Linked DNA regions of Homo sapiens: all the other regions are linked to region 4. The links are contacts of gene promoters, found by promoter capture Hi-C in blood cells and fetal thymus (Javierre and others, 2016). All regions are on one chromosome and are shown on one strand. The core of a region is centred on a gene start or on the middle of the fragment in contact, and the rest is flanking DNA. Distances in the headings are between cores, read along the strand shown.

Region 1 (3,531 bases), core at 457-2,956, 710 kb before region 4:
AGTGACATTTTAAAAATCAACTTTATTGAGGTGCAACTGACACATAATAAAACGCATCCATGTTAGATGTACCCTTTGGTAAGCCTTGGGGAATGTATACAGCTGTTGTACAGAACACTCCCATCACTCTAGGTACCCTGCTCCCCTTCCCCATCAGTGCTCCACCCCAGCCTTGCCTCTGAGCAGCCACGGAGCTACTTCCTGTCATTATAGAACGGATTTGTCTTTTCTGGAGATTCATATAGATGGAATAACCCAGCATGTACTCTTCGATGTCTGATTTCTTTCACTCTGCATGATTTTGAGATTTATTGTGTATACAGGTTGTTTATTGATTTCACCAATGAGTTAGTATTCCATTGTGCCAATATGTCATGATTTATTTATTCCTTCACCTATTGATGGACGTGTGGGCTATTTTTAGGTTTTTGCTATTATGAATAAAGCTTCTATGACTATTTGCAAAGGAGACTTTATACAGACAAATGTTTTCATTTCTCTCAGGTAAATATCCAGGAAGGAGATTGCTGGGTCATATGATAAGCCTCTGTTTAACTAGATAAGAAACTGCCAATCAATTTTCTAAAATGGTCTTATTTTTTGCAACCCACCAGCAAAGTATGAGGGTACTAATTGCTCCACATCCTCATCAGCACAGAATCTTCTGTCTTTTTAATGTTAGCCATTCTAGTGGGAGAGGAGGTGGTGATATCTCATTGTAGTTTACTTTGAATTTCTCTATGACTAATGACATTCGGCATCTTTTCATGTGCCTGCTGCCCATTCTGATATCTTCTTTTGTGAAGTGTTTGTTCAAATCTTCTGCTTTTTTTAAGTTGTCTGTATACTTAACATTGAGTTAATTCCCTCCAGTTTATGGCCTGCCCTTTTGTTTCTTAACAGTGAAATTTGAAAACCAGACTTTTAAAAAATCTCTCATTAGGGTACTTCTTAAATGTGACTATTAGGCCATGTAAGAAGGGCCAGTTCTCCTCACCCTGCCTCACTCCAGGGTTGCCCAGGTTCTCCTTTATCGCACGAGTTCTCAAAGGAGAGAAGCTGGCTGGAAAAACCGCCTCTGCGTCAGCTGAGAGGAGCCCACAGAGGCACTCTGCTTCTTCCCTTGGCCTAAAGCAAACAGGAAGGCACAGCTCTGGGGGCTCACGATAGGGACCCTGTTGAAGCTGCTGAGTCTTCAGCCACTCGAACCAGGTCCTACCTCGGTGCCAGGCCTTGGGCCATGATGCCCTTCACAGGCATCTTCTGGCTGACTCCTCACTGCCACCTGTGAGGTGGAGTCACTGTTCCCCTTTGATGGATGAGGAATCGGAGGCACAGACTAGTATGTCTGTTGGGAGACAGAAAATGTCTTTTTGACAAAGCGAATTTCATATAAGGCACTGTTAACCAGGGCTTGCAGAACAGAAAGGCAAAGGGGAATGCTGAGACATCAGAGGTAGTAACAGCAGGAATATATGAAGCCCTCTTACAAGTCAATAATAAGGAAGTAATCTAATTGTTTAAAATAGGCAAATGATTTGAGCAGACACTTCAAAGAAAATACAGGGATGGCAAATAAGCACATGAAAAGATCCTCAGGGTCAGTAACAGCCCCTAGGGCTGAGGGAACAAGGGTGAGAGTGTGGGCTTATAAAGATGTGGACACTTGGGAGGGGGCTGCAAGGCTGAGGCCCAGATTTCTGAGGGGGTGTCTCTCAGAGGACCCCATGGGACAGGTCTGCGAATGGGGAGGAAACTGACAGCTGGAACCAGCGGCTGCTGCTGGGGTGCAGGGCCATTGCATTGCTGGGGTGTTGCCAACAGAACAGGAAACAGACACAAAGGAGCTGACCCCTTCTCCATCCACCAGTGTTGCAGGCTCCCTCTAGTGCCCCCTCTTGGCAGAGCCTAACAAGGAGTTCTGGCAAGGCATACTGGTGATTTGTGGGATCCCAGAACATCACAGAGGGACGCTGGTTTGAAGCTGAGAGACAATGGCTTAATAACGAGCACCACAAATAAAGTCATTTGCCCAGCGAGTATAGCTAGTAAGTGGCAGAGTTTTTAACCCAGGAGCATATGACTCTGAGGCCAGTGCCCAGGTGGGGGTTAGAAGGAAACACTGGACAGGTGCCAGCCCCAGAGGCCGGGCTGACAAGTTTGGTGTGTTGGGCACTGGAGCAGGGGCAGAGGGCTGGGCAGGCAGCATCATAGTGAATACCAGGGACCCACCACGGGTCCTAAGCATGGAGCCAGGGCTGCTGAGGAAGCCGAGCTGGAGCAGTTGTGACACTGGGGTATGTGGGGGACACCGTACATGCTGCTGAGCTGGATCCCCATCTCAGCCCAGATAGGCAGGAAGACAACCAGAGTAAACTGAGGTCCTGGCTCTGGGCTCTGCACCCATGGGTCCTGCGATGCCCCTGCCTGCCTGAGTCAGGAGCTCCAGCCAGGGACAAGAAGAGCAGAGCCCAAGGAGCTGGACATTCACACCTCTCTCCTCATCTCAGACACAGCACCCTCTTTTTTGGCCAAAACCTTCCCAGGACAAAGCCATTGAGGTCCCAGATGGAACATTCCAAGATTTATTTGCAGTTTTCTTCTGAAACTAGCTTCTCTACTGTGGTGACCATGAGCCAGCCACCATTCCACCTCTGTGAGTCCCTCTTTGAGTCGCTGATTCCTAGAGAATGAGACCACACCCCAGTCTCAAAAGGTGTTGGGATGAGCTCTTGCATTGAAGTGTGAGTTGCTTTTCCCTCGCCCCTGCCAAATCCTCCAGCCTTCCCCAGGCAGGTCCATCCTGGGTGGTCAGCAGCAGGAGACTCCCACCTGTGTGCCTTGTTCCTCCCCTTTCAGTCGTCCTCTGGATATGCAGCTGCTGAACGGCGATCCCGGGCCCACATCCACATGTGGAATTCCTCTGAGCCAGCCTTCCACTGGGGAGACCTGTACCCCAAGCTTTCAGGTCCCCTAATGACTATCTCTCCTCTCTATGATGGGGCTGCACCTGGTCTGATCTCTAAGCTGTGGTACACCCAGGGATTAGGGGCACTGGCTTTGTATCCAAACAGCTGTAGGTTAAAACCCTAACTTTGCTGTGGGCTAGTTGTGGGACATTGGGCAAAGTACTCAATCTTTCTGTGTTTTATTTTATTGTTTGTCAAACCTATAGGCTAACATTAGTATGCCCACCCTCAGTGATTTATTAGGAGGCTTGGATGAGTCCAGGCATGACAGCCCTGGCACAGTGCCAGGTGTCTGGCCACTACTCAAGCAACGGAGCTGTTGCAATTAGAGTCGGCTTCAGATCTGGGGCTTCTAGGGTCTCCTTTGGTCCTCCACTCACCTCTAGGGCATAAACATCGTCTGTGCTTTTTAATTTCCCACACTAGCCCAGCAGGGAATTGCATCCCCTTATCTATGTCCCCTCCCCATCCAGCCCTTCCAGCTACAACATCAGCCTCTCATTCCCTGGCAGGGCTCAAGCTGTTATGATCTGGCTTTGGACAAGAGGAGCCGTTGATCCCC
Region 2 (3,935 bases), core at 626-3,125, 760 kb before region 4:
TTTTCTTTTTGTTTTTTAAAACTTGCAATTTGAAAGCAAATTATTATGGAGTTGAAAAACTTTATTTCTTAATTGCCAACTGATTTCCTGTGGCAATAGAATTTCTCCTGTGAGTTTAAGGCACTTATTACAGCACATGATACACCCTTCTTACACTCTTCCTTCTCCTTTCTCAGTGCCCCCTTTAAATGTTGGAGGTGATTTTCAGTCTTCCTTTTCTGTGCACTTATTTTCCAGTCTCCTGATATTTTCATTTCTACACTGCATTTTTAGCTTTATCCCATCTGCTTTTTAAAAAAAAATGATTAAAATACATATAAAATGTACCATGACATGACTTTTTCTTATGTAATGTTTTTTAAGCAAAGTTACATATGTGCAAAGCATAAAGTAAGTTTTGCAAAGCTTAAGAAAAAAATCAGCCCTCCTTTTTGCTTTCTACTCCCTAGAGGTAATTATTTTATCTAATTCTTTTGGTATTTATTTCCATATCTCTAAATAACTTGAGGTATAGCAGTTTCTTCATTTCTTAGCTTTAGGCATTTCTTGTGACTTCCCCCTCTGTAGAAGATGAGAATTTCGCCTTCTTTCATTCCCCTGCGTCTACCACATACATGCCACTTTCCTATCCTTTATCTCTCAGAATAGTTCTAATTTTGATTGATCACTACTCAAATGTTTACATTATTATGGCTATGTAATCACTGCTCACAGGTGAACATGTAGCATATTATCTAGCTTTCCTTTCCTGCAATTGTTTGTTTTCCCTAGTTTATAATTGTCTTTTTCCCCCCTTTGCTTAATTTTCTATGTACCTGTGGTTAATTCTCCCTGGACTTTGCTGGTTCTCCAGAGTTCCTGAAGATCTCCTTTCAGTTTGCTTAGTCTCCTTCAGACTGCACTGGTTTTCCTGCTCTCATCATGGATTTCCCCTCACCATCATGTTGGGGCTTCCTTTGCTTCTGTCCTGTTGGATCCATTGTTTCTTATACCCCTATCTCCTTTCCTGCTTTGCTCCCTCATTTTAGGGGAACATGCCCTTCAGCAATTTCCTGAGAAAAGGATTGTTAATGAGAGATAAATTGTTTTGTGACTTTGAATATCTGAAAGTGCCATTGTTCTACCCTAAAACATATTCAACCATTTAACTGGTATATAATTGTTGGAGGTAATTTTCTCTCAGAATTTTGAAGGCATTGTTCCATTGCCTTGTAGTTATTGTTGAAGTCTAAAGCCATTTTTATTCCTCATTCTTAGTACATGACCTGGTTTTTCTCTGTGGAAACTTTCTGAATGTCATCTCTGTTGTACTGAAATGTTATAATCATGGTAGGCCTTGGTAGGAATCAGTTTTCATTAATTCTGCCAGTTATTAGATGAGCTTTTTTAATGGGAAACTTATGTCCTACATTTCTGAAGGATTTTCATGAATCGTTCTATGGTGATATCCTTCGTTTTCTGTATTCTGTCTTTCTGGAATTGTTCATGTTGTATGTCCTGCACTGATTTTCCTATTCTCTTTTAAAATCTTATTGTTTATAGATAAAAGTTTCTCGTATCTTTCTACAGATATGAATGATATATTTCTGTTTTTAGATTTTGAAGTTTTCTCTTCCCCCTATATGGTATGCTTCCTTCACGTTCCTTTTATTGCTTCATTTTGATCTGCATCTTTGCTGTTAGTGATTTTCCTCAAGTATCTGATGTCCTTGGGCCCTCATTTAAGAGTGAAGGTACAAGAAACAGATCAGAAGGTCTGAATTTGTGGGTGGGGCATATTGGGTTTGGATTTCACAATATCTGGTGTGGTTGGCCCATTTGATTAGGGAGTCTCAATGTCAGTATCTTTAGCCAATGAATTTTTGATGACTTTCCATTTATGTAATGAATTTAACAAGCACTTAACAATGTGCTAGGCACTGTTCCTGCTGACATGTAGCCTTCATGGAGTTGACATTTTAGTATTTTTAAGTCTTTTCCCTTGGGCTCAGTAGATTTTACTGAAAAGCTCCCCAGTCACCATCATTTTGGGGTCTCAGTAGAAGATACCTTGGAGTCTCAGTATTTAATATTTCATTGAGTCTGTGTATCCATTTTCATAATCTCCTGTCTTCCTTTGATACTCTGTACTTTTTCCTCCAAGTGTGCTTGGAATCTCCTGGTCTGGAGACTCTTTAGTTTGTCCTCTCCAAAGAATAAACCTGTCTTCTTTGTCATGAGGTGGGAGAGGGGAGGTGAGAGAGGGGAGGTGGGAGAGGGGAGCGGATCTAGAGTTTCTGAATGCTTTTAGGGCAGTTTGTTTGTTTTTAGCCCTACCATTCATGAGACACACTGGGTGTAAATCACATTGTTTCTATGCTGTTCTCACTCCTGATTTAGGATCTGTTTTCTCTACTGTTTTAACAAAATGTTTATATTCCTCCACCAGCTTTCCAGCTTCCAAACTTTTGTTACTGTTTCCTCTCCCTTTCTGTGTGTCGTTGGGAGCTTATGCCTTTAAAAAAAAATCCTTTTAGTGTGATTTTATTAGTAGTAGGGAATTAGCAGAAAACAAAAGTATATATTTTAGTCCGCCTCATTTCATGTGTTTTGCCCTTGGCTGTATCTGACTAGTTCCAGAGATCTTCCATCCTCCACTCTTGGGTTTTATGTTATCTATATCAATGCTAGTGGAAAAAAAGTAACTCCGGTTATTTAGAATGCCTTATTTACATCGTATTCATGGATGGATCGGGGCGGGTTGGCAGCCTGTATAAGCTGAGAAGTTAAAACATTTCAAACTTGATGATAAAGCCATCCTGAAGATATAGCCAGACAGAACCCTAAAGCTGTCCAGCTTCTCAATCTTGACTATCCCATAAATGAGCATTCTCCCTCAGTCTGGTGAAGAGGTAAACTATCCCTGAGCTTTTTGTGTAACACATTACATCCCTAGAGCTAAAAATGACCCCATCAGTAGTGTTTGTCTTGAAGGAGAAGCTAATTTAATAATTACAATAGTTGATTTAAAACAGTGGTCCCCAACCTTTTTGGCACCAGGGACCAGTTTCGTGGCAGATAGACAATTTTTCCACAGATGGGAAGGGGGTACATTTCAGGATGAAACTGTTCCACCTCAGATCGTCAGGCATTAAGAGTCTCATAAAGAGCACAGAACCTAGATCCATCACATGTACAGTTCACAATAGGGTTCATGCTCCTATGAGAATCTAATGCCGTTACAGGCGGAGTTTAGGCGGTAATGCTCACTCACCCACCCACCCACTGCTCACCCTCTGCTGTGCGGCCTGATTCCTAACAGGCCACAGACTGGTTGTTTGGGAGACCCCTGGTTTAAAAGCTTGTTCTTAATGCCTTAATGGAGCATGGGAAGGAAATTTTAGACTTCCTGTCTTTTGGATACTTGCTGAGGAACTGGACTTGAGACCAACAATAAAGGAATAGGTAATGACACCTAATTGGTGACTGGACCTGAATACACAATGTTTGCTATGACCTACAGATGACAGAAAGTTGGAAGGTTTTATATTTGACTCCCGTTTCTTTGGCCATTTACTGCTAATAGTCTCATCTGCAAAATGAGGGGTTGGACTAGATGATCTCTACTTCCCAGCCTAGTTGAGTAGATTACCAACAGCTAAGTTTACACTGCTGTGCCTAGTTTTCTTCTTTTGAAATGATTCTTGTTTAGTCAACTTTGCAAAATTCCTTTCTTTTTGACATATCTGTTTATATTTACATTTCCAGTTTTACTGGTTACTTGAGTTTAACATTAGCCAGCTTCCATTATCCTAATAAACAGTAAGAATTCTGTCACTGAATATTTTATCTGCCAGGTTTGTTCTTACCACTTCCTTTAATGACTCCTTAATTATTCCATCTTCTTATTAAATAGTGGGGTTTCTAGTTTGAGAGGGAAATGATTTGCTCTGTGA
Region 3 (3,667 bases), core at 1-2,500, 740 kb before region 4:
TTCCTCAGAAGGATTTTGGTAATTTGAGAAACCTGAATTCCAAGTTCCTTTCTCCTTTTCAAGTTACAAAATGCTTCCCAACCAACATGCACAGCACTGCAAACATATATTAAAGCATCACAAAACAAAAACTGTAATTAAAATTGAAACTCTGTGACTCATGTTCATTATGTCAAATATACAGATGGCTGGTGTTGAACATAGCTCAAATCGTTTTCTAACCATAATCATGTATAATAAAAGATTAATATGGAGTGAACCTTCTCCTAAACTCAGCATTCTATAGTGTTCTAACGTATTCTGTGGGCTGAATTGTAAACTATTCTCTTTTTATTCTTTACTTGCAAAGGCTCAAATACAAAGCTTACATATTTCTAAAATGCCAGAGTGTTCTTTTAAATTTGCAATCAAGTAAAGAGGAGCCAGAGAATAACAATCACAACAGAAGAAGTGGTGATGCCTGAAAATTATCTGAGAAACATCTGTCATTCTTACTGAAAATTCTGGAAAGCGAAAATCCTTTATGATGCCTGAGTTTCTTGGCATCATCAAGGAATTTATAAGACAGAAACATTCTATCTTCTCAAAAAGCTTCAGCTAAAGAAATCCATCTAACTTAGGCGAAAAGAGTCTCCTGCTTCCATTGCCTTGTAGATTTTTGTCCATTTGTGGTTTGGGATGGGTTTCTGTCTGTATCTGTGTACTCCTTGTTCTGCCTCAGCACATCTGGAATCTGGAAAATACTGTGCCTATTATCTGCTGAGAAATGGTAACACCATGATGTGGGGCTGGTCTGCATTTCTCATCCCTCATATAGTATATCTTCCAGAAGGGTCTCACCCAGTCAGAGGAAATCTGGTTTGGACGCATCAGAGACAGCCAGGTCACATCATCTCTCAAGCCCTTCTCCACATAGTATTTCAAAGAAAGATCATTTTGCGATTAGACATATACTCACCCGGTGTGGTATGCTATATGATATATCAGTAAACACATATTTGGTTGTTTCTGTTCCTTCCAAAATCTTATCTTCAGCTAACACATCATTTATTGGTACTCGCTCTTCCAGAACTGGTGGCATTTTTAATCGTACTTTAGCTGCCTCAACTGCCTGTCTTGTAGCCTAATGAAAGAAAATATTTATTAAGGAAAGCCACAAGGTTACATAATATAAGGATCATCTGACAAAAGCACATACTAATAAAAAATGCAAAAACCTGCATAGAAAAGAAGGTGTAGCCACAAATCAGTGAGTAAAAAGCCAAACCTGGACTTGTGAGCCCTGGCCTTTGCCTCTGCGATGTGGCTGAGACCACCAGCTATAGACTCAACCGTTATCAAAACCACAAAGGCATGCTCTGAGACAAAGCCAGGCTACAAAAGCTGCTTGAAACAGAATAAAAGAATGCAGTTTTGGGGTGCTTACTATGTGCCAGATAGTGTTCAAACAGTCTAAATGTATTTGGCTGATTTAATGGCCTCAATTACCTTATGAGTTAGGTGCAATTGTTATCATCTCCATTTTACAGAAGAAAAAACAGAGGCATACAGATGTTAAGTAAATTGCTAGAAAATTGCAACACTGGTATTTGAACCTAGACAACCCAACTTCAAAGCCCATTCTCTTAACCATTGACTACATTGCTTCATGCCATACTGTTAAAAGCAGTTACCTCTAGGAGGTGAAAAGATGGACTTTTACTCTTCATGTAATCTACTACTGGAGAGAGATATATATATTTTGCTGACTATAAATTACTTTTGAATCAGAAAGACGAGTATTAATGCTTTACGTATTCATACATCAAAGTGTTTTCCACGCAGCACTCAGTACCCATGGTACTGAGGACACTGGTGCCTGGAAAACATGCTGTTTCCATGCAGGATCTCACAATCTCCCCAAAGCTTCAGCCCCAAGGCAGATCACAGTAGATGTTTCTCCAGGAAGGAAGCTGGAGCAGGCAGAAAAAAGGAGGGGTGCTCAGGCTGCCTTGAGAGGAGAGAGGATACTCTCTGAACACCCAGACCTGATCCATATGCCCTAGTCTGCTCAATTCCAGCCATGCTCCCTGCCCCTCTCTGGCAGCCTACTCACATTTCTTTTCTCAGTTCTATGCCTGGTATTACCTTTCACTAGTGCCTATGGAAGAATAGCTATAAGCATCTGGAGGGGCCTCTAGAAATGTTGTTTAAACCCTTAAAGAAAGGTATTCTAACAATATTCCTGCATTCACGTACCTCTTCCAACTGTGCCTGAGTCATTAGCTTATAGGTTGGTGGCTTCAGTTCTTGTATAGCTGGCTTAAAAGTCTTCTGCAAGTTCAAGCCTGTCATTTTCGTGAGTATGCTTTGAACTTCCTCATCCATAAATGTAGGTTTCTTGGTCTCTGGGCTACCAGATTCTGCTAAAATGGACTTTAGTAAATAAGAAGCTGACAAAAATGACAAGCTAACAAGACCTCTAAATAGAAAAGTCAGTTAACAATAAAAAGCATTAGCACAATGTCTACCTTGGCACTGCAAAATGCTAATACCTATGAGATGCATTCATTTATTTCTTCATTTAAGATTTACTGAGCACTCATTATGATGAGGAGATAGACTCGGTCTCTGCCAAAAGGACAGACTACTAGAGGAAGTAACAGTAATAAAGTAATTAATGTAATAACTGTAATGGTTGCTGCCACTTACAGAGCTGTCTCCTATATGGCAGGTATAACACACATTTTCAGGAATGCTTATAACCACTCACAAAATAGGTACTGATAAACCCAATTTTATAAATGAGGATGCTGAAGCCTATCCAAAGACAACTAGCTATTAAGTGATAGAGTCAAAATTTAAACCAAGGTTTGTCTGGTTCTGGATCCTAGATGGTTTCCAATTTATCATAGCGCTCCTCGGTATAAGTGGGAGGTGTGGGGAGACATAATGTGAGAGGTATGGTATACAGGAGAGGTACGGGGCTTGGGTGATTGCAGAGGAAGAAACTAAGCATAGCCTGGACTAGGGATGGGCATGACAGGGTCAAAGAAAGCGTCCCAAGAGCCTCATCACGGCAGAGAAAAAAGGGAGGGAAAGTCTAGGCTAAGAGATTGCAGCTAGGAAAGAGGCTTGGTTCACTGGACATGATACTGAAGAGGCCGTGTGTTATCATGGAAGAGCCTTTGACATAAGCAGAGAATCAAATCTTAGCTCAGCCTCATGCAGTTTGCTTATTGCTTTGCCTAACTTCTACTTCCATTTCCATTAGCAAAAAAGAAAGAAAAAGCCATTTGTTCCTAGTCACCTCTTCTTCTCCTATAAATGTTGGTATCCCTACAGATTCTGAACGATGTCCTTTTCTCCCTTCTCAGATTCTTACTCGATGATTTCTCCTATCCTGCCACGACTTCAATTACCTTTATATGCCAGAAACTCTAAAATCTGAATCTCCTGCCAAGATCACCTTCCATCCAATTACTCAACCTCTCTCATGTACTTGAATACTGCCAAGTCAGAACCCATCAACTTTCCCTTGTCTCAAACCTGCATTTTCTGTTCCCTATCTCAGCATCATCCAGTAGGCCATACAGGCCAGAAATCTTACAGCCATTCCTAAATTCTCCCTGATCCTCCAGATCTAGCCAATAGCAGTAGTAATAACAACAACAGTAATCAAATAGCT
Region 4 (3,360 bases), core at 459-2,958:
CTCTATTTTTGCAAATATTTTATTAAAATGTAAATTTAAAAAGATGAAAAACCATATTCCACTTACTTTCACTGATGGAGATGATACCAAGCACTTGAAACTTTTTACATGTCTTTAAAGAAAGCTTTTTGCGTATCTCATACGTACCCATCAATCTTTTAAAATCCCTTCCCTAGCAACCCAACACCTAAGTTTCAGAGCATGACTTAAACACCAACACGTTGCCACTGTTCATCTAATCCACCTGAATTTTGCCTTAACTTAGGTTTATTCTTACTGGGGACTGAAATGGTTCGTTCAAGATAAACCGAAGTCAGTTTAAAAATTACTAGATGATAGTAGTTACTAAGATGCTCATGGTTCCCTTTTCAGCAAAGGCCCCCAGGTAGGGCCAGCCAATAATGCAAGTCACACTCAAGTGTTGACATCTTCATCTCCGGGCCGGCCCCTTATGAAGTGAGGGGGGTCTCCAGTAAAATCACTCAGGAAGCTCCTCGAGCCAAGTATTCCCAAATGCTACTTACTGGAGGTACAAAAAGGAGAATAACTTTTCTGAGGGCCATTTCACAATCTATACCAGAAGCCTTGTGGTATAGACCGTGGATTCTATCTTGTTTTAGAACGAATCTTGTGCGATTCTTTCTACAGAAATGATCACGCTCAAAAACCCAGATACAACGATGCTCAATGAATTACTTTTTGCAATAACTAAAAACTGAAAACCACTTGTACGCTCACCATCAGGGAGAAACTACATTTAGTAAATCACAGTCCAAAGCCATGCCAAGAGTCAGGGATGGATGAGGTAGTCAACCTGACACACAGGAATGTACAGTCGAGAGAGAGAGAGAGAGAGAGAGAGAGTCGAGAGAGAGAGAGAGAGAGTCGAGAGAGAGAGAGTCGAGAGAGAGAGAGAGAGAGAGAGAGAGAGAGAGAGAGAGAGAGTTTCAGCACTTTATGATGCAGGTTCTGCAAAAACAAGCCCCGCTCATGTTACAAGGAAAAACCATCTGGAAGAATATACACCCTCATGTTAACGCAGCTTGTCTCTGGGGAGCAGCGGCACGGCTGCTTTGCTTGCTTCCTTGCTTTCTGTTCCACGTTTTCGACAGTGAGAAGTATTATCTTTAGAGGTCGCGAACAGGCCGGAGGAGGGTGCGGCAGGTCGCGGGGCAGGGCCTCGCTAGGCAGGGACGCCCCCGCACCGCCCCGGGCTGGCCCCGCGCCCCGCGCCCCGCCGCACCTCCACCTTTGCCGGCGGTGAGCGGGAGCCGCGTCCCGCCCCGAGGTCTGGGATCACCGGCGGGCCGGCTGGAAGCGTCCGGAACTCACCCAGCGTCTCACCCGCGCGGGTCTCACCGACCGCGCAAACACCGCCCGCCGCCGCCGCCCAGAGATGGCCGCCGCCGGCGCAGCAGGGCCGAGAGCGTGGGGACGCCGGGGGGCTGAGTGCAGGGGTTTCCAGGGTGCGGAGCGGGCGGGCCCGAGGCGTCCGGGCGGGCGCAGGCGCGACACCGACCCCACCCGGTCTGCTGCCTCACCTGTGCTCTGTGGGCCGCGGGAGGCTCTGGGGTAGGTTTCACCAAACAACCGGTTGGTTCCGACTCGGCTGCGTAGGCCGCGTGGCCTTGCTCCCCTGGCCGAGAAACAGGCGCAGCCGGCGCGGAGGTTGAAAGCTCTGCAGGCGCGAGTACCAAACGCGCCGACTGTTTGTCGCGCCTCTCAGGTCCCCTGGGGCGACCAGCGCAGGAGGCCACCCCTCCCGCCGCCACGGACCCAACCCTGGTCCTCTGCCTTAGCCGAAGGCCGCACCCTCCGCGCATAGGCCTTCCTCAGCCCCAACCCAGGACATCACCATGTCCCGCAGTGCGTCCAGTCTTCCTGCCAGCAAGTGTGGGTAGGAGCCGGCCGCTGGCCCCGCTCTGGGCTAGACGGTGGGGACATACTGGCGGGCAAAAACAGCCCTGTGCCTGCTCTGCAGCTATGGGGAAGGAATATCTGTTCATGGCAGCAATAGCATTCGCTCCTTAAAACCTCTTTATGAGTCTCATTCCTTTTTTAAAGACCCAAACTACTTAAGGTGGGCATGAAGCCCCCATGTGTGATCTAGCCTCTGCCTGCTTGGCTTCATTTAGGTCCTTAAAGGATGCAGGTTTCTTCTCGCCCAGGGCCTCTGCAAATGCTCTTCTCTCTGCCTGGACACTCCTCACCTCTTCCCTATTGTGAGAGTTCTTCATATATCATTTCTTAGATTACACTATCCTGGCCCATAAGACTTGCAGCATTGCTGGGTGTGGTGGCTCATACCTGTAATCACGGCATTTTGGGAGGCAGAGTGGCGGATCTCTTGAGTCCAGGAGTTCAAGACCAGCCTGGGCAACATGGTAAAAAAAAAAAAAAAGAGAGAGAGAGAATGAGAAAGAAGAAAAGAAAATAATTAGCGGCTCAGGCCTGTAATCCTAGCTACTTGGGACGCTGAGGTGGGAGAATTGCTTGGGCCCTGAAGGGAGGTAGAGGCTGCAGAGAGCTGTGATTGCACCACTACACTCCAGCCTGGGCAACAGAGCGAGACCCTGTTTCATTAAAAAAAACACACACAAAAAGAAACAGCCGGGCTCAGTGGCTCACGCCTGTAATCCCAGCACTTTGGGATGCTGAGGCAGGCATGGCAAAACCCCGTCACTACTGAAAATATAAAACTTAGAGGGGCGTGGTGGTGCATGCCTGTAGTCCCAACTACTTGGGAGGCTGAGGCAGGAGAATCGCTTCAACCTGGGAGGTGGAGGTTGGAGTGAGCTGAGATTGAGCCACTGCACTCCAGCCTGGGCGAAGAGCAAGACTCTGTCTCAAAAAAAAAAAAAAAAAAAAACAGCCGGGCACAGTGGCTTACACCTGTAATCCCAGCACTCTGGGAGGCCAGGTGCGGATTGCCTGAGGTCAGAAGTTTGAGACCAGCCTGGCCAACGTGGTGAAACCCTAGCTCTACTAAAAATACAAAAATTAGCCGGGCGTGGTGGCATGCGTCTGTAATCCCAGCTACTCAGGAGGCTGAGGCAGGAGAATCACTTGACCTTGGGAGGTGGCAGTTGCAGCGAACTGAGATCGCCTCACTGTACTGCAGCCTGAGCCACAGAGTGATACTTCGTCTCAAAAACAAAAACAAAAAAAACACAAAAATTGCAGCACCAGGGATTCTTCTTCCTAGCCCCTTTCAGGGTGTGCAATAATTTGTGTAATTTTTGCTTAATGTGTAACTTAACAGTAGACTGAGATCCATGAAGGCAGAGACCATGGCCGCTTGGCTCTCATTCTTGTATGTCTCACATCTGTACCGTGCAGGCCCATGTTAGCTCTGGTAAA
Region 5 (3,595 bases), core at 917-3,416, 540 kb after region 4:
ATTCTCAGAGCTCATAGTTGGTTCCTTGGGCCAGGTCATAGCTGCCACTTTACCATTTGTCCATGCTCTGGGGGTCATGACAAGAGAAGGCCCTGTGGTTCTGGTGGAACACGAAATTCTGTGGACCAGGACCCTTGAGTCTGTTCTTACGGAGCAAGTGTATTTGTGTTCCCAGGTTTGAGAGCCCCCTGTTTCCAGAGGGTTCCAAGAGGGTCTGGGCTGCTGTGGTGAGAGGCTCTGGGGAGGGCTTCAGTGGGTCTGGTCTGCTCATGCAGGTGCTGTCCTGCTCCTTTTACTTCGTCTCCTCAGTCAGGGACACATGTGGCCAGAAGGAGGCCAGTTCTGTATCTCCTGTGTCCAGGAAGAACCGATTTGAGCTCTTCATGCAAAAAAATTTTGCAGAGTATGGCCCACGTATCTCTGAGGATATGAGAGATGATTTTAGTTGCTACATCAACCAATCATTTTATAACTTATTTTTATTTTTCCTCATGTGAATTAGAAGAAAATAAGACTAACATAGCAATCCTGTGAGCTCATGGAAATTATTACTTGGACAAGTATCAAGCAGGTATTTTGTGCTTAAAAGCATTGTCATTTTGGCATGAAAATATGGTAAAAAAATGTATTGATGACCTGGGAAACTATAATATTTAGTTTAAACTTCTGGCCTTAAAATCTCTAAGGAAAGGACGGTTTTTATCTTGCATAGAAATCTCAGACAGAAGGGTATTTGTCCTGGTTGCCAATCTGCCTTTTATGCTCCAATTTAAACGTATATCCTTTTGCTCATTCAGTCAAATGTTCATTCATTCATTTGCCCACTCATTCATTTAGTACAGTACTTGCTGAGGTTGACTCTGTGCCAGGGCCTTCCACCTCACCTGGGAAATCAGCCAGGACCAGGTGATGTGATGGAGCCAAGCATGGGGGTGGTGGGAGCTCAGAGGAGGGAGGGGACAGGGACTTGGGGAGGATGAATGGAAAAACCCTCGGAATGCTGGCTTCCAAGAGAAAGCAAAGGTATCTTGCTCCTTCTAGGTGCTACGCCCCACCCACTCCCACACACCTTTGTTCCTGTAGTAAAAAAGCCAGGAGGGAGAGCCCCCTTCGCAGCCTTCCCTTTCCCTGGCCCTGGGGTTCTGCCTTCTCTGGAGATGTTACTGAGTTGTGAGATGAGCGCTGTGTTTTTGTGGCATTTTGTAGACCTTTCCTTCCAGCTCTGCACCTTTATTCTTTTCCTGGGTCCCACAAGTGCTGTCTTAATGCTCACCTCCCATTTCTGCTTGGACCCTGCCTCTTCTGTGGCCTGGGCAAGGCTGTGGGAAGTAGCGGTGAGGGCCCAAGATTAGGGCAGACAGACAACCTGGGTTTGTATTCACCACTTTCTTCCGTGGAGCTGAGGGCAAGCCTCTGTAGGGAAAATGATAGCCTCTGAAGATGCTCGGGGGCCAAGTGGTTGTATGTAAAGTGCTTTTCTTAGTATCTGGTACACAGTCATGGGAAGCTATTGTTATTTTCCCCCAGCAGGCTTGTCTTTGTCTTCCCCTTCTCTTCAGTTCACTCTTTCCTGGAAGCTCCACTTCTGAGTAGACACATTCACTGAGAGCAGTGCATAGCTGGCCCTTGAACAATGCAGGGGTCAGGGGCGCAAACCCCCCATGCAGTTGAAAATTTGCGTGTAACTTTTGACTGCCCCAAAACTTAACTACTCATAGCCTACTGTTGACCAGAAGTCTTACCGACAATATGGACTATTAACACACATTTTGTATGTTATATGAATTATAAGCTGTATTATTACAATAAAGTAAGCTAGAGAAAAGAACATGTTATTAAGAAAATCACAAGGAAGAGCAAATATGTTTACTATTCATTAAGGGGAAGTGGATCATCATAAAGGACTTCATCCTTGTTATCTTTGTGTTGAGTAGGCTGAAGAGGAGGAGGAAGAGGAGGGGTTGCTCTTGCTGTCTCACGGGTGGCAGAGTCGGAAGAAAATCCACGTATAAGTGGACCCATGGCTGTTCAACCCCACGTTGTTTCGGGGTCAACTGTATTTCAAACATTTTCTGATCTTGAATTACTGTAAGAAACTCATTTTACATTGTGACCCAATCCACACATGTCTGACTCCCTGTGATGCACTCTCTCTCTTCTCTTCCCATAAAAACTTGCTGATCCGGGACCGCTCTTGTGGCTATAGGTCTTGATGCAATTTGGAAAACAGAGGGGCTGTGTCCAATTGCCTGCCTTGGTACTGCCTTGCCCCAGACTGCATTTGGGAGGAGGTTTGAGTGGATCTTGATGGTTCATGCAGTCCTGCGGCGACCTCTGGTGGCAGTGGGGTCTTCCTGCAGGACTGCCTGCAGTGCAGCGGCTGTAGCGTGGGTTGGGGAGAGGGTAGCAGCCTTGGTGAAGTCCATCTAGGACTACTGAGCCCCTCTTCAGGCCCGCGGACTCCTGCTGGTCTTCAGTAATGACAACACGACCCTGGAGCACCCAGCTGCTCTCCTGGTCTCTGATGAAACTGTGGAACTGTGGTCCTAGCCTCGAATCTGGCCAGCAGAACACCTGATTTGGCAACAGTCATGAAATCTGCTGTGGTTATTACAGCACGGAGAGGGAGTAATTGTTCATTTCCAGGGTGTTGGAGCCACTTTCTCCCTCCTCTTAGGCTTGAGATCCAGCATGGGTGTACTCCAAAAATCATTCCTTTCTGTGTTTCCAGTCAAAAGCCAGCAGAGCACACTGGTCACCAGAGAGGCCCAGCCAAAGACCAGGACCCTGCAGGTGGCCTTGCCATCCACACCGGCAGAGCCACCCCCACCAACTCGTCAGAGCCATGGCAGCCATGGCTCCAGCCTGACCCAGGTGTCCGCCCCCGCTCCACGCCCCGGACTGCATGGACCCTCCAGCACCCCTCCTTCCTCGGGGCCCGGGATGAGGTGAGCCCCAGACTCTGCCCTCTCACCCCACCTGCAGTGGTGGCTCCTGGATTCAGGCAGTCCTGTTCTGGGCTCCCTCCAGGCTTCTGCAGATAGGAGGGGGGCAGACACATGTGAATAGAAGGTGCCTCAGGTGGGGTCCAGTCTGAGCTCTGGACTTGAGAACCTGTGCTCCCAGCCAAGACAAACCCACCCTCCCCTTACCCATGTCCTCCCCCAAACCCGTTCCCCCTCCAGAGGGGCTGGATCCTCAGATGGGCAGGGCTCTACTAAGGGAGATACTGGTGTGGCTGCTGCACTCCAGGGGTCTCCTGGCTGTCTTCTGGGCCTGAGGGAGGGAGCAGGGCTGGCCCTGAGCAAACCAAACCAGCTTGAAGCGTGGTGAAGTTTGGCTTTTGAAGTTTTCTTTCTGGCCCATGCATCCCTCATTTCTTCTCCTCCTCGTGGCAGCACGCCCCCGTTCAGTTCTGAAGAGGACTCAGAGGGAGACCGTGTGCAGCGTGTGTCTCTACAGCCCCCAAAAGTTCCTTCCAGGATGGTGCCCCGGCCCAAGGATGACTGGGACTGGTCTGACACAGAGACCTCGGAGGAGAATGCCCAGCCCCCTGGCCAGGGCTCAGGTGAGCTGGCACCTTTGGGTGAGTGGG

Evidence for each region. The method cuts DNA at HindIII sites, captures the fragments that hold promoters and counts their contacts. A CHiCAGO score of 5 or more calls a contact.
Region 1: a contact is called between a fragment that was not itself captured here and the fragment with the promoter of FAIM in region 4, in 6 of 17 cell types (fetal thymus, monocytes, activated CD4 T cells and 3 more). The highest score is 8.7, in fetal thymus.
Region 2: a fragment that was not itself captured here is called in contact with the fragment with the promoter of FAIM in region 4 in 2 of 17 cell types (naive CD8 T cells and total CD8 T cells); the score reaches 7.5 in naive CD8 T cells.
Region 3: a fragment that was not itself captured here is called in contact with the fragment with the promoter of FAIM in region 4 in 10 of 17 cell types (naive CD8 T cells, activated CD4 T cells, total CD8 T cells and 7 more); the score reaches 14.9 in naive CD8 T cells.
Region 5: a fragment that was not itself captured here is called in contact with the fragment with the promoter of FAIM in region 4 in 1 of 17 cell types (neutrophils); the score reaches 5.0 in neutrophils.

What each region holds. Positions count from the first base shown.
Region 1 is chr3:139,318,333-139,321,863 of GRCh38, reverse strand. All of the region lies in intron 1 of LOC124909439, which reads left to right. Among named protein-coding and RNA genes, the nearest start is that of MRPS22, 24 kb to the left of the region's middle. The HindIII fragment of the contact is 2,515 bases long and covers 449-2,963 here.
Region 2 is chr3:139,362,617-139,366,551 of GRCh38, reverse strand. All of the region lies in intron 15 of COPB2 (coat protein complex I subunit beta 2), which reads left to right. Among named protein-coding and RNA genes, the nearest start is that of MRPS22, 21 kb to the right of the region's middle. The HindIII fragment of the contact is 2,935 bases long and covers 408-3,342 here.
Region 3 is chr3:139,345,616-139,349,282 of GRCh38, reverse strand. MRPS22 (mitochondrial ribosomal protein S22) reads right to left here. Exons shown (of 8, transcript NM_020191.4): 2 at 2,239-2,405; 3 at 959-1,123. Among named protein-coding and RNA genes, the nearest start is that of MRPS22, 3.4 kb to the right of the region's middle. The HindIII fragment of the contact is 1,314 bases long and covers 594-1,907 here.
Region 4 is chr3:138,607,119-138,610,478 of GRCh38, reverse strand. It overlaps FAIM (Fas apoptotic inhibitory molecule), which reads right to left and starts at 1,708. Exons shown (of 6, transcript NM_001033031.2): 1 at 1,542-1,708. RefSeq lists an enhancer at 971-1,060 and a silencer at 1,161-1,620. The HindIII fragment of the contact is 4,797 bases long and covers 127-3,360 here.
Region 5 is chr3:138,067,504-138,071,098 of GRCh38, reverse strand. DZIP1L (DAZ interacting zinc finger protein 1 like) reads left to right here. Exons shown (of 16, transcript NM_173543.3): 13 at 2,732-2,948; 14 at 3,399-3,568. Among named protein-coding and RNA genes, the nearest start is that of DZIP1L, 46 kb to the left of the region's middle. RefSeq lists an enhancer at 1-372. The HindIII fragment of the contact is 5,579 bases long and covers 1-3,595 here.